Regions from separate parts of the Homo sapiens genome. Here region 2 is linked to region 1. Evidence: promoter capture Hi-C in 16 types of primary human blood cells and fetal thymus (Javierre and others, 2016). All regions are on one chromosome and are shown on one strand. The core of a region is centred on a gene start or on the middle of the fragment in contact, and the rest is flanking DNA. Distances in the headings are between cores, read along the strand shown.

Region 1 (6,753 bases), core at 1,726-4,225:
TTGTCCAGGAGAAACACATACCAGTATGGCAGCAGGAATAACACACAGCTTATCCGGTAGCACAGGCCCAGCATCATGCCCAGTGCCCCTGGGATTTGTAGGGAGAGGATTAAGAGGTCAAGAGATCACCACAGGCCCAGTTTCCCTGGACCAGGATATGGTTGGAATTAAGAAAAATCAAGCATTGTATAATCACATAAAACTAAATGAAAATTAAATGTTATTTTAATATTTTAAAAAGAATTATGGGATCACAGCTTAAGTGACACACAGGTCAACAGCATGAAATTGATCACAGCAGAAGTGAAATAAGGTGCCAAAGACTTTGACCATTCACCAGCATGCTTCTATTTCTGTGTTTCTGGCAGGCCAGTCAATATTTCCCACAGTTCCCCTCACCCAGAAACATGATGGTGTAGACAAGATACATCCAGTCAAGTGGCAGTGGGCGTAGGGCATCCAGCAAGGGGAAGCGGCACACATCCAGCCCATCAAGGTATTTCCGGTCCAGAGAGCTGAGCCCCCGCTCCTGGGGAATGTCTAGCACCATCAAGAACCCTAAGAAGGCAATAGGGGAGTTGGTCATTGGGCCTCAGCTAAGGAAGCAGTAGAATACAGTGGAACACAGTTGACAGTGTGCAGCTCCAGGGTCAGACTTCTTTTCTAATCTTGGCTCTGCCATTTATTCAGTATTAATTATTGAGTGCCTACTCTGCACAGTACTACATCTGTTGTGCCATCTAGAACAGCCCCTGCAGCTCGGTTAACCAATTCCCCATTTGTGAGAAGGGGAATACATCACAGGACTACAGAGAGGATTAAATTACAGAAATGCACAAAATGCTATAAAAACTGTTAGGGTCTTGACAGCTATAAAGATCCATCCTATTGAGCTTCAGAAAGTGCTCTGGGAGGCCAGGCACGGTGGCTCACGCCTGTAATCCCAGCACTTTAGGAGGCTGAGGTGGGCAGATCACCTGAGGTTGGGAGTTCGAAACCAGCCTGACCAACATGGAAAAACCCCGTCTCTACTTAAAATACAAAAAAATTAGCCAGGTGTGGTGGCGCATGCCTGTAATCCCAGCTACTCGGGAAGCTGAAGCAGGAGAATCACTTGAACCTGGGAGGCGGAGGTTGCAGTGAGCCGAGATCACACCATTGCACTCCAGCCTGGGCAACAAGATCGAAACTCCGTCTCAAAAAAAGAAAGAAAGAAAGAAAGAAAGTGCTCTGGGAGTGCTTCTCAACCTTTTCTGCTTCCTGGCACACTCCAAAAACAGTTGCATTTCGTCAACACCCTGGGAATAAACAGAAGAGGCTACTCAGATCAGGAAGCCAGCTTGAGATAAAGCAGGGTTTCTCAACTTCAGGACTAGTCACATTTTGGGCTGGTTAATTATTTATTGAGGGGATTATCCAATGCACTACAGGACATTTAGGAGCACTCCCTGACCTCTATAGAGATGCCAGCAGCCACCTATTCTTCCTCCCCCAAGTTGTGACAACTAAAAATGTCTCTAAACATTGCCAAATGTCTCCCAGGGAGCAAAACTCCCTCCAGTTGAGAACTACTGGGCTAAGGGGACTAATATCTCTGCACATCTGTAAACCATTCCAAGCACACCATGCTGCGGCCTCAGTTAAGAAGCTCTTGATTAGGGAGTCACAGCCAAAAGGTATGGTCCCTGTGGCCCCCTGCTCTGTTTCTCTGAGTCTTCTGGGCAACTTCATGCCACAAGCAAAATGGGTCACTGCTGCCTCGCCTCTACATATCATATAGCATTTCTAGCTGGGTACGGTGGCTCACACCTGTAATCCCAGCACTTTGGGAGGCCGAGGCAGGCGGATCACCTGAGGTCAGGAGTTTGAGACCAGCCTGGCCAACATGGTGAAACCCCGTCTCTACTAAAAACACACATACAAAAAAAATAAAAAATTAGCCGGGTGTGGTGGTGGGCGCCTGTAATCCCAGCTACTCGGGAGACTGAGGGAGGAGAATCGCTTTAACCCGGGTGGCGGAGGTTACAGTGAGCCGAGATAGCGCCATTGCACTCCAGCTTGGGCAACAAGAGCGAAAGTCCGTCTAAGGAAAAAAAAAAAAGCATTTCTGGCCACCAAGTAAATCCTAACTGTAGGAGACAAAGCAGGTTTAATCCTAAACTTCGCAAAGACCTCTTCTTTTATACCAATGTCTTCAGCTCTGAGGAAAAGGGAGCTAAGTCTACTTGCAACCAAAAAATAGAGATTGTCATTCTCCACTCTCAACCAAATTGCTCCCACCCATAAACTGGACTCACCAAAAAGAAAACGAAAGACAGCTAAGCTTGCAGGGTCCGTTGGTCGATTCAGCAGGGTCACCAGCCTCCGCCAACTGGACAAATCTGTCCACTCAAAACCCAAGAGTTTCCCTATTCGGCTGTCCTGCCTGGGCCCTGAGATCAGTTCAGCCTTGTCTTTCTGTACTTTATCTGCAATCAATAAATGGAGAAAATATGTGTGCGGGGGTGGGCTCCACCTCAAATCAAAGAAATCACTGCACCAACAGCTCAGAGCTTCCGCCCACCCGGGTCGGCTCAATGAGGTTGCCTCAATGATCTGACTATAGGAAACATCCCTGCAGTGCAGCCCCCTCTCCACGATCCCCTAATGTCCCAGAACCCCTCAGACTACAGTCCCCTAACCGCAGTGTTCCCGAATGTCATCATCATTCAGAAGCCGCAGGCTGCAAATGTCTCACAGCACGCCCCCTTCCCCACAGAGGACCCCCCCCCCGCCTCACCGGGAGACACTGGGCGTCCTCCCGCCCCCGCCCCTCTGAGACCAGCGCTCCTAGGAACTCTCCGCCGGAGGGCGGGGTCCTAAGCCTACCTGAGCTGGGCGAGGTCCGCGCGGACCCGGCAGACACCGCCATTGCTCTGCGGAGGAGGCAGGTGGGTCACAGCTGCCGCGTCTGAACGGAGGCCGCCAGGAGAATTTGCTTCCCTAGGCTCCGCCTCCCGACGCGTCAGCGGCTGTGCGGCCGGCCGCAAAGCGCCAGCACTGTCGTAAATACTACCCACGACCGGCGGCGCCGGATTCCTTGCTTGGCGGCAGGGGGCGGAACAAGGAGCCTTGGAGCGGGGCAAAGGTACCCCTTAGTGCCGTTGATCTCCAGGGGCATTGTTAGACTCGCCTGTTATGCCTTCCGAGGGGGCCTCTGCTTTTTAAACACTGAAAAGAGTCTGAGTTCCCCAACTTCCTTGGGTCCTCCCCGACCCCATTAGTCCTCTCCGTCCCTGCGTCCCTGCGGTGCTCTCTGGTGTGAGGGATCGGGCGCAAAGGGCAAACTTTTTGTCAGAGTGACGCCGAGTTGAGGACGCGCCTGGAAATGTTGCCTGGGTTTTGAGCCATTGCACGACCCCTTCACTTTCTTTTCCAGGACCTGCAAAGAACCGAGGTTTCAAAGCAGTAGGGGCCGGGCACTGCTCTCGCTTGTAATCCCAACAGTTTGGAAGGCCAATGCGGGAGGATCGATAAAGAAAAAAAAAAAAGGCAACAACAAAAAAAGAAAAAACACTAAAAAAAAAGTTAGCTGTGTGTCGTGGCGCGCTCCTGTGGTTTCAGCTACTCGGGAGGCTGAGGTGGGAGGTTCGCTTGAGCCCAGTAGTTCGAGGCTGCAGGGAGCTGTGATCGCACCACTGCACTCCAGCCTGGGGGACACAGTGAGACCCCGTCTCAAAAAAAAAAAAAAAAAAAAACAAGCCGGGTGCGGCAGCAAGCCTGTAATCCCAGCACTTTGAGAGGCCAAGGCGGGCGGATCACTTGAAGTCAGGAGTTAAAGACCAGCCTGGCCAACATGGTGAAACCCCGTCTGTACTAAAAATACAAAAATAATCCGGGCATGGTGGCGTGCGCCTGTAATCCCAGCTACTCGGGAGGCTGAGGCAGGAGAATCGCTTGAACCTAGGAGGCGGAGGTTGCAGTGAGCCAAGATCGCGCTACTGCACTCCAGCCTGGGCGACAGAGTGAGACTCCGTCTCAAAAAACAAAAAACGAAAAAGAAAGAGAAAGAAAAGAAAAGGCGGGAAGAAAAGAAAGAAAGAAAATTAAAAGCAGCCAGGGAAACAGGAACAACATAACTGAAGAGGGGATACAGAGCAAGGGCAGTGAGTAGAGTGTGGCCCATCAGGGAAGGTTCTCAGAGGTGAGTCTGGAGCAGAATTAAATACCTAAATCTCTCCACTGGGATTAGCCAGCAGGAAAAGAAGAAGGCATCCCAGAGAAGCGGTTCTCAAACAGTTGGGTCTTGGGAACCATTTACAGTGTTAGAAATTATAGAAGACCCTAAAAGCTTTGTTTATGTGGATTATATCTTTCAATATTTGCCGTATTAGAAATTTTTTTGGCCGGGCGCGGTGGCTCACGCCTGTAATCCCAGCACTTTGGGAGGACGAGGCGAGTGGATCACGAGGTCAGGAGATCGAGACCATCCTGGCTAACACGGTGAAACCCCGTCTCTACTAAAAATACAAAAAATTATCCGGGCGTGGTGGCAGGCGCCTGCAGTCCCAGCTACTCGAGAGGCTGAGGCAGGAGAATGGCGTGAACCCAGGAGGTAGAGCTTGCAGTGAGCCGAGATCGCACCACTGCCCTCCAGCCTGGGCGACAGAGCAAGACGCCGTCCTGAAAAAAAAAATTTTTTTTTTTGAGGCCAGGCGCGGTGGCTCACGCCTGTAATTCCAGCACTTTGGGAGGCCGAGGCGGTTGGATCACTTAAGGTCAGCAATTTGAAATCAGCCTCGCCAACATGGTAAAACCCCGTCTCTACTAAAAATACAAAAAAAATGAGCCGGGTGTGGTGGCAGGCGTCTATAATCCCAGCTACTCAGAAGGCTGAGACAGGAGAATCACTTGTACCCGGGAGGTGGAGGTTGCAGTGATCCAAGATCGAACCACTGCACTCCAGCCTGGGTGACAGAGTAAGACTCTGTCTCAAAAAAAAAAAAAAAAAAAAAAGGCCGGGCACGGTGGCTCACACCTGTAATCCCAGCACTTTGGGAGGCTGAGGCAGGTGGATCACAAAGTCAGGAGTTCGAGACCAGCTTGACCAATACGGTGAAACCCCGTCTTTACTAAAAATACAAAAATTAGCCGGGTGTGGTGGCACGTGCCTGTAATCCCACCTACTGGGGAGGCTGAGGCAGGAGAATCGGTTGAACCCGGGAGGCAGAGGTTGCAGTGATCCCAGATTGCGCCACTGTACTCCAGCCAGGGTGAAAGAGCAAGACTCCATCTCAAAAAAAAAAAAAAGCTTTCTAACTTCTACTACAAAGGAAAAAAAATGGCATGTTTCTGTAGTCTCAGCTATTCCCAGCTTTTCTGGAGGCTGAAGCAAGACAATCACTTTAGTTCAGGAGTTTAAGACTAGCCGGGGCAACATAATGGGATCCATCTCAAGGAAAAAAAAAAAAAGCTATCAAGCCATTAGAAAACATGGAGGAACCTTAAATTCATATTGCTAAGCGAAAGAAATCAATGTGGAAAGACTACAAACTATGATTCCATCCATATGACATATATATATGTATTTTTTTGAGTCAAGGTCTTGCTATGTTGCCCAAGATGGTCTTAAACTTCTGGTCTCAAGCAATCCTCCTGCTCAGCCTTCCAAAGTGCTGGGATTACAGGCATGAGGCAGTGCGTTTGGCCCCAACTGTATGATATTCTGAAAAGGCTAAACTATGGAGATAATAAAAAGATCAGTGACTGCCAGGGAAGTGGAGTTGGGGGGAGGAAGGGATGGTAGGTGGAGCACAGGGGAGTTTTACAGAAGTGAAACTATTTTGTATGATGTAATAGTGTCATGGTGGATACATGTCATACTTGTGTGTGGAAAAGAGTAAAGCCTAATGTAACTTATGGACTTAGTTAATTATAATGTATCAATATGGACTATGTTTTTTTGTTTGTTTGTTTTTTGAGACGGAGTTTCCCCCTTGTTGCCCAGGCTGGAGTGCAATGATGCGATCTCGGCTCACTGCAACCTCTGCCTCCCAGTTTCAAGCGATTCTCCTGCCTCAGCCTCCTGAGTAGCTGGGATTACAGGCACCCGCTTCCACGCCCAGCTAATTTTTTGTATTTTTAGTAGAGATGGGTTTTCACTATGTTGACCAGGCTGGTCTTGAACTCCTGACCTCAGGCGATCCACCCGCCTCGGCCTCCCAAAGTGCTGAGATTACAGGCATGAGCCACCGCGCCCGGCTGGGCTATGTTAATAATATACCAATACTGGCTCATCAGTTGTAACAAATGTACCACACTAATGCAAAAAGTTAATAATAGGAAAAATGGGGAGCCTGAAGGGGGATATGGGAACTCTCGGTACTTTCTTCTTCTTCTTTTTTTTTTTTTCTTTTCTTTTTTTTGAGACAGAGTCTCCCTCTGTCGCCTAGGCTGGAGGGGCAGTGTCACAATCTTGACTCACTGCAGCCTTGTCCTTCTGGGCTCAAGTGATCCTTCAACCTCAGCCTCCCAAGTAGCTGGACTACAGGCGTGCACCACTGTGCCTGGCTAATTTTTTTTATTTTTTGTAGAGACGGGGTTTCACCATCTTGCCCAGCCTGGTCTCAAACTCCTGAGCTCAAGTGATCCTCCCTCCTTGGCCTCCGACAGTGCTGGGATTAAAGGCTTGAGCCATTACTCCCAGCCTGGAATTCTCTGTACTTTCTGCTCAGTTTTTCTGTAAGGCTAAAATTGTCCCCCCAGAATAGTCTG
Region 2 (6,753 bases), core at 4,241-6,740, 560 kb after region 1:
ATTCCTCACATATTTCTTTGCCATCTCATTAATGGCAACTCCATTCTTATAGCTGCTCAGGCCAAAATCCTGGGAATTGTTAGCAAAGCCTTTGTTTATCCCTTCAAAAGATACGTGTGTGTGAGGTCTCCGTGACCACTCCCAGGCTAAGAGTTATGACAGCAAGAAGATACAAAGCAAAGTCAGCAAAGAGAAAAGGCTCATTGGATAAAGACCAAAAGAAATCAGTCACAAGCTTCCAAAAGACCTCTCCAGAAGATTCAACACAGGACATGCTTAATTCCTCCATCAGTGACTTGTGACAACACATGCAAAGTGTCTACCAAAGCTCATTAGAGACCCAGTGCCCAGAGTTTTTAGGGGAGGCTGGCCATGTAGACCACCCACTGGCTGGCATATATTATACCAAGTTTCCATACTCCCAGAAGGGAAGCAGGTGTTTGGCACAAAACACGTTGTACAAACAGGTTAGGCACAGTGAACCATTCTTAGCAGTTCTAGGAATGGTGAGAACCCTTCCAATATCCAGGTTCCCAGATGGCAGCCAAGGGCCAGCCTTGGACGCAGACCTTCCTAAGGATAATGGTTTCAGGTCTGTTAACTCTTTTCTGCAAAATATCAAAATTTTAGATGCCTGATATCACTACCAGTCACCTTGGTTATTGTCGTCTTACAAGTCTGGATTAATTGCAGCAGTCTCTGTCGTCTCCCACTGCACCTCCCTGCACACTGCTCTCAGTTCAGCAGCTGTAGTGACCCTGGATCATATCACTCTTAAGAATTCAACATTGGCTTTCCATTAGTATAATTCAAATAAAAACTGAAGTTCACAACAGGGCTGCTAAGGTGAGGCTCAAGGGAAAGGGGTTTTTGAAAGGGGTAGCAGAAAGCTAGGTCCAAAATAAAACACTGCCTCCAGGTTCCAGGTATGAGCAGCTTTCCGTTGAGAGCTGCAGGGAAGCTTCTGTGCCCCCTCCCTGAGGAGTCCAGGTCAGTAAAACAGCATTAAGGATATAGGATAAGTTTTTGCTTTGGAATAAAGGCCCAAGTAAGGCACTCAGACACAGAAGAGAATAAAGAAAGCAATTCTGGGGCATTTCTCAGTGGGGCCCCTGGTGGTATTGGAGAGTTGATTATGCTCAGGTTTAGGGAGCAATTTTAATGGGTAACAGGACGTGGGAGAAGGTTCTGTTGTTCATTCCTCAGAGGGCACGGTGATATCTTCCATTTGGAGGAGGGACTCTTGGTGAAGTTGAGCGTGGGTGGATAGTGACCTTGCTTTGGAGGAAATCCTATTCTGGGATTCTGCTGTTAGGACTAGTTAATTCAGATGATTCTTACCTAGAGTTTAAAACAGTCCCCAGTGGTAGCAAACTTAAATATTAAAATCAGCCATGGGGAGGGAGGCTTAAGCCATTGCTTGCCTTGCATAATTAAAGGCAAGTCTTGTAGAGCTGAGAGTACAGTGCAGGTGTTTGTCTTTTGTCTTTTTTCTCTATATATACATGTATATATGCCCACACACGTTTGCGCATTTAGGTTACATACATAATTACAACTTACGGAATTTTTGTTTATCAAAACTCACAAGGTCCTCTTAAAAATTTAGCTAGAAAGACTTGTGGGCTGGATACAGTGGCTCACGTCTATAATCCTAGCCCTTTGTAAGGCAGAAGTGAGAGAACTGCTTGAGGCCAGGAGTTTGAGACCAGCTTGGGTGACACAGCAAGACACCCTCTCTGCAAAAAATTTTGTGAAATGGCCAGCTGTGGTGGCACACACCTGTAGCCTAGGCTACTTGGGAGGCTGAGGCAGGAGAATCCCTTGAGTCCAGGAGCTAAAAGTTACAGTGAGCTGTCTTCAAAATAAATATAGAAATTGTATTATGTCTTTTCCACAGGATACCACAGCTGTGCCTTATGTGTTTCAAGATGATCCTTACCTTATGCCAGCATCATCTTTGGAATCTGTGAGTATTTTCATATAATTTTCTAGTGTTTTATCTCTCTGGTTTGCGTACAACAGTACATAAATAATTTAGTTGTAATAACCTGGGAAAGGTTTACAAATGCTGAGAAATTGATAGACTATGTGAATCCTTTACTACTTTCTTCAAAAAGATGTACATATCGTCAATGGGGAAAGGATTTTTGGTTTTGGTTTCTAATACTTAGGGCTTTTTCACACTGGAGTGACCCACTCAGTTTAAATGGCTTGCTTTTTATATATTTCAAGCTGTGTATAAGATGCTAACTGAAATTATATCACAGTAGAAAAGGTGGGATAGTCTATAATTTCTAATTGGGATTCTGCGTGTTGTTGCATTTGTTTTTTTTTGTGAGGGGGGAGAAATTCTTGCTGAGAGTGTAACTATAATCTTGCTTGAGTTTAAATTACATGTATTTAAATCTTTTTCTTTATATAGCGTTCATTTTTACTGGCAAAGAAATCCGGGGAGAATGTGGCCAAGTTTATTATTAATTCATACCCCAAATATTTTCAGAAGGACATAGCTGAACCTCATATACCGGTAAGGAGAGGTAGTTACATTATTTACATAATACTATTTTAAATGTAAATTAAACCAGGCTTTCATGGCTAATATTTCAGTAGCTATTTGAATACCCTCAATATTTGGATGATAAGCCTTTTAAAGTGTGGAGTTAGCTTTGATCACAAGACTAACTTTAAAATTCTTTCTGTATTTATTTGCTCTTCATCTTAATATTTTCCCCATTTGATTTTTGTGACACCATGCTCTTAGGTCTTTAATTCTATGACTGAAGTTTCCTTCACTACCTCTCTATACACATCTTTCTCTTCCTTTTTTTTTTTTTTGAAACGGCATCATGCTGTCACCCAGGCTGGAGTGCAATGGTACAATCATAGCTCATTGCAGCCTGGAACCCCTGGGCTCAAGTGATCCTCTTGCCTCAGCCTCACAAGTAGCTTGGACTACAGGGGTGTGCCACCATGCCTGGCTGATTTTTTTTAATTTTTAGTTTTTGTAGAGAACAGGGTCTTGTCTCACTGCACTGCCCAGGCTGGTCTCAAATTTCTGGGCTCAAGCAAACACCCTTCTCAGCCTCTGCAATCTCTGGGATTGCAGGTGTAAGCCACTGCTGCTTGCTCTTGATCCGCTTCTTTTTTTGTTTGTTTTTGTTTGAGATGGAGTCTCACTCTGTTGCCCAGGCTGGAGTGCAGTGGCACGATCTTGGCTCACTGCAGCCTCTGCCGCCCGGGTTCAAGCAATTCTCCTGCCTCAGCCTCCTGAGCAGCTGGGATTACAGGTGCCTGCCACCGCACCTGGCTAATTTTTATAGTTTTAGTAGAGACGGGGTTTTACCATCTTGGCCAGGCTGGTCTTGAACTCCTGACCTCGTGATCCACCCGACTTGGCCTCCCAAAGTCCTGGGATTACAGGTGTGAGCCACCGTGTCCGGCCTTGATCCACTTCTTAAGCATGGGTATCTTTCTTAGATTTTTATGCTCATTTTCTCTTTTTATTGTGTATACTCTTCTGTTTCAGTGACGCTTATAATCCATTTGGTACTCTTTTGTATATCTAGCCTAGATCCCTTTACTTTGAACTCCACATTGTATTTCCAGCTCCCTCTTTGTTCTGTAGTTTTGGAGTGAGGATTTATGCAGTGTGGTGGGTATTGTGCTTAGTGCTTGTCCATACAGTGGTGAGCAAAACAGATGCGCCTCTGCCCTCCTGAGTTTGTTGGTGGAAGTACTAATCTCAGACTCATCATATCTAAACTGCTCCCATATCCCTACATCTCTCTGCTTCCCAAAGCTCACAGGGAAACACACACTTCTTGTTTTCATAGTAGAACTTGCACATAGATGAGGAAGCCAGTGTGATTGTGTAAGTCAAAATATTAAAATCCTAAACTAAGACAGTGTCTTTCTCCATTAGATTGTGAGCACCCTGAAGGTAGAGAATGCCTTTCGTCTCTGTATCCCCAGTGCCAAGCTTAATGTCTGGGGTAAAATAGTAGGCATTCAGAAAGTATTTGAATAAGTTAGTGAATGAGGTAAAATCAGCATACCTTGGGTAGTATTAAATGTTTAGATGATACACAGCATTAGAGATGAAAGGTTTAGTTCAATTCCCTGTGAAGACAGTGATGTTAAAATGATCAGTAGTATCTGGTGCAGGAAACATGAATTGGAGCAGTGAAGTTTTACTTTGGTATGTTGGTGATAAAAGTTTTGTCCTACTCAGTTATCCTTCCCTCACCTTTACCTGTTTGTAGTAACTTTAGTCATCTTGTTTTCCTAGTGTTTAATGCCTGAGTACTTTGAACCTCAGATCAAAGACATAAGTGAAGCCGCCCTGAAGGAACGAATTGAGCTCAGAAAAGTCAAAGCCTCTGTGGACATGTTTGATCAGCTTTTGCAAGCAGGTGACTGAGTTCGATTAAAGCCCCTCTAATAACATGGGCTTTGAAGTGGGCCCAAGTTATATGATTCATATATTTTGAGTAAGAGTTACAGGTCCTGCTGTACTTACTCTGCTTTGATGGCTGCGTGCTTTATATTTTTAGTAGTTTATTTCATTTTTAGCTTTAGTGTTACTTAAGAATTACAGGCGAAGTAGAATTGCAGCTTTGTTGGTTTATTGTAGCACTGGTAGAGAAATTGTATCACCCTTCTACCTTAGCTTCTGTTTTTAATGTTAGGTAGGTATGCAGTGCTCCCAGATTTCCTGTACCCTTTTCCTTTTTTTTTTTTTTGAGATGGAGTCTTGCTCTGTCGCCCAGGCTGGAGTGCAGTGGCGCAATCTCGGCTGACTGCAAGCTCCGCCTCCCAGGTTCATGCCATTCTCCCTCCTCAGCCTCCTGAGTAGCTGGGACTACATGCACCCACCACCACGCCCAGCTAACTTTTTTGTGTTTTTAATAGAGGCGGGGTTTCACCATGTAGCCAGGATGGTCTCGATCTCCTGACCTCGTGATCCACCCACCTCGGCCTCCGTAAGTACTGTGATTACAGGCGTGAGCCACCGCGCCCAGCTTTCCTAGACTCTTTAAGGATGTTTGGAAGATTGGGCCACAACACACAAGAAAGAAATACGTGAAAAGGAAAGCACACTCAACTAGGATCAGGGGCTTTGATGCTGGTGCCATCTGTGTCACTAATTGTTCTTAGCATTCAAAAAGTTACTTAATTTCTCAAAACTTCTAGCTCTAAAATTGTGTGGTTCTCTGAATTGGAGCTGGATGTAAACTTGCGGAGCTACACACGTAAATAGCACAGCTGATAAGTCAACATGAAAATCTACATATAGCAACATCAGAAGCAGCTGGCATTAAGTTTTTAGAATCTAGAGTGCTATTTGGTGATTTAGAATAAACATGGAAGTGGTGGAAACTGGACTGAATCATTATACACTTGAACACAAGAAACATTTGCAGAAAGCTATGTTTGAGAATTTTGGTGTGTGGCTTGGTACAGCATCAGATGTATGGCTGAGTGATGGCAATAGATTGTAATTTAGTGAGGCGCTTCCCTCTGCTTGTTAATATGATCGGCATCTGGTGTGAGTCTGCATTGAAGTTCTTAGTGCTAAGGCTTGTCTTTTTCTAGTTTTACCCCCTTTATTGGATAGGTGTGTGCAGTCCTTCAGTAAAGACAGGTGTCAGACCCATAGCTCAGTAACAAAGTGAGCTAACATACCAGGGAAAGGATCCTAGAACATTTCATTGTCAGGCCCCTAATAAGTGCAAAACACTGTGCTAGCCATTTCACATACTTAATTCTACAATACCTTATTCATTGGTGTGTTTTATAATAATCTTATGAAGGTAATTATTAGGTAATTTTTCCAGGGTCTCATAGCTTTGAGATAGTGTGAACCAGTTGCTTCTCCATAGCCTGTACCCTCTGCCCTGCTTTCTCTTCTGGACTTTTTACATTTCCTGATGGGCATTTTAAATTTATCAATGTATTTTGTTTAGAAAGATAATTTATTGGCTAGGCATGGTGGCTCACACCTGTAATCCCAGCACTTTGGGAGGCCAAAACAGGAGGATTGCTTGAGCCCAGGAGTTCAAGACCAGCCTGGGCAACATAGCGAGACCTCATCTCTACAAAAAATTTAAAAATTAGCCAGGTGCAGTGGCACATACCTGTAGTCACAGCTGCTCGGAAGGCTGAGGTGAGAGGATCACTTGAGCCCAGAAGTTCAAGGTTGTAGTAAGCTGTGATGTCCTTGCACTCCAGCCTGGGCGACAGAATGAGACCCTATCTCAAAACAAAAAGATACATTTACTTTTCTTATAAGATAGCAGATTATATCTCATACTTGTCTTCCTCCTATTCCCTTTTTAGCCTTTTTAATGAGTGTCAAGATGGGGACATAATGTTTTGAACAATTTTTAAGAGACTACTATAGTTCGACAATTATGCTAGTATTTCTAGGCAAGTTTTCAGTGAGTATCTGGATCCAAATGGAATAATTCTACTTGCATTTGTTCAAATGCACCTGGGCTGGGGGAACTAAGTGGGGATAGTTTGCAGTGTGTTCAGTTTGGTGATGATAATTAAAACCATGAAGTAGTTTGAGGATAATGAGTACATAAAATAAGTGAGCACAGGCCCAAACTTCATCTTGTGTTCCAATCTTCTACGTCAAATTACATGGTTAATAGGGGTTATGTCCCTGTCTACGTCACTTCAGGTGTTTAAGTTGACGTTGAGTGCATAAAGTAGTGGACAACATTAAGTGTGTAGCCCTGAAGA

The links. The method cuts DNA at HindIII sites, captures the fragments that hold promoters and counts their contacts. A CHiCAGO score of 5 or more calls a contact.
Region 2: a fragment that was not itself captured here is called in contact with the fragment with the promoter of GGCX in region 1 in 1 of 17 cell types (monocytes); the score reaches 5.1 in monocytes.

Annotation. Positions count from the first base shown.
Region 1 is chr2:85,558,518-85,565,270 of GRCh38, forward strand. It overlaps GGCX (gamma-glutamyl carboxylase), which reads right to left and starts at 2,976. Exons shown (of 15, transcript NM_000821.7): 1 at 2,869-2,976; 2 at 2,298-2,468; 3 at 400-558; 4 at 1-88. The coding sequence starts at 2,911. RefSeq lists an enhancer at 2,950-3,179. The HindIII fragment of the contact is 2,007 bases long and covers 2,322-4,328 here.
Region 2 is chr2:86,114,630-86,121,382 of GRCh38, forward strand. PTCD3 (pentatricopeptide repeat domain 3) reads left to right here. Exons shown (of 24, transcript NM_017952.6): 5 at 1,901-1,969; 6 at 2,426-2,530; 7 at 4,292-4,415. Among named protein-coding and RNA genes, the nearest start is that of PTCD3, 12 kb to the left of the region's middle. The HindIII fragment of the contact is 3,021 bases long and covers 3,981-6,753 here.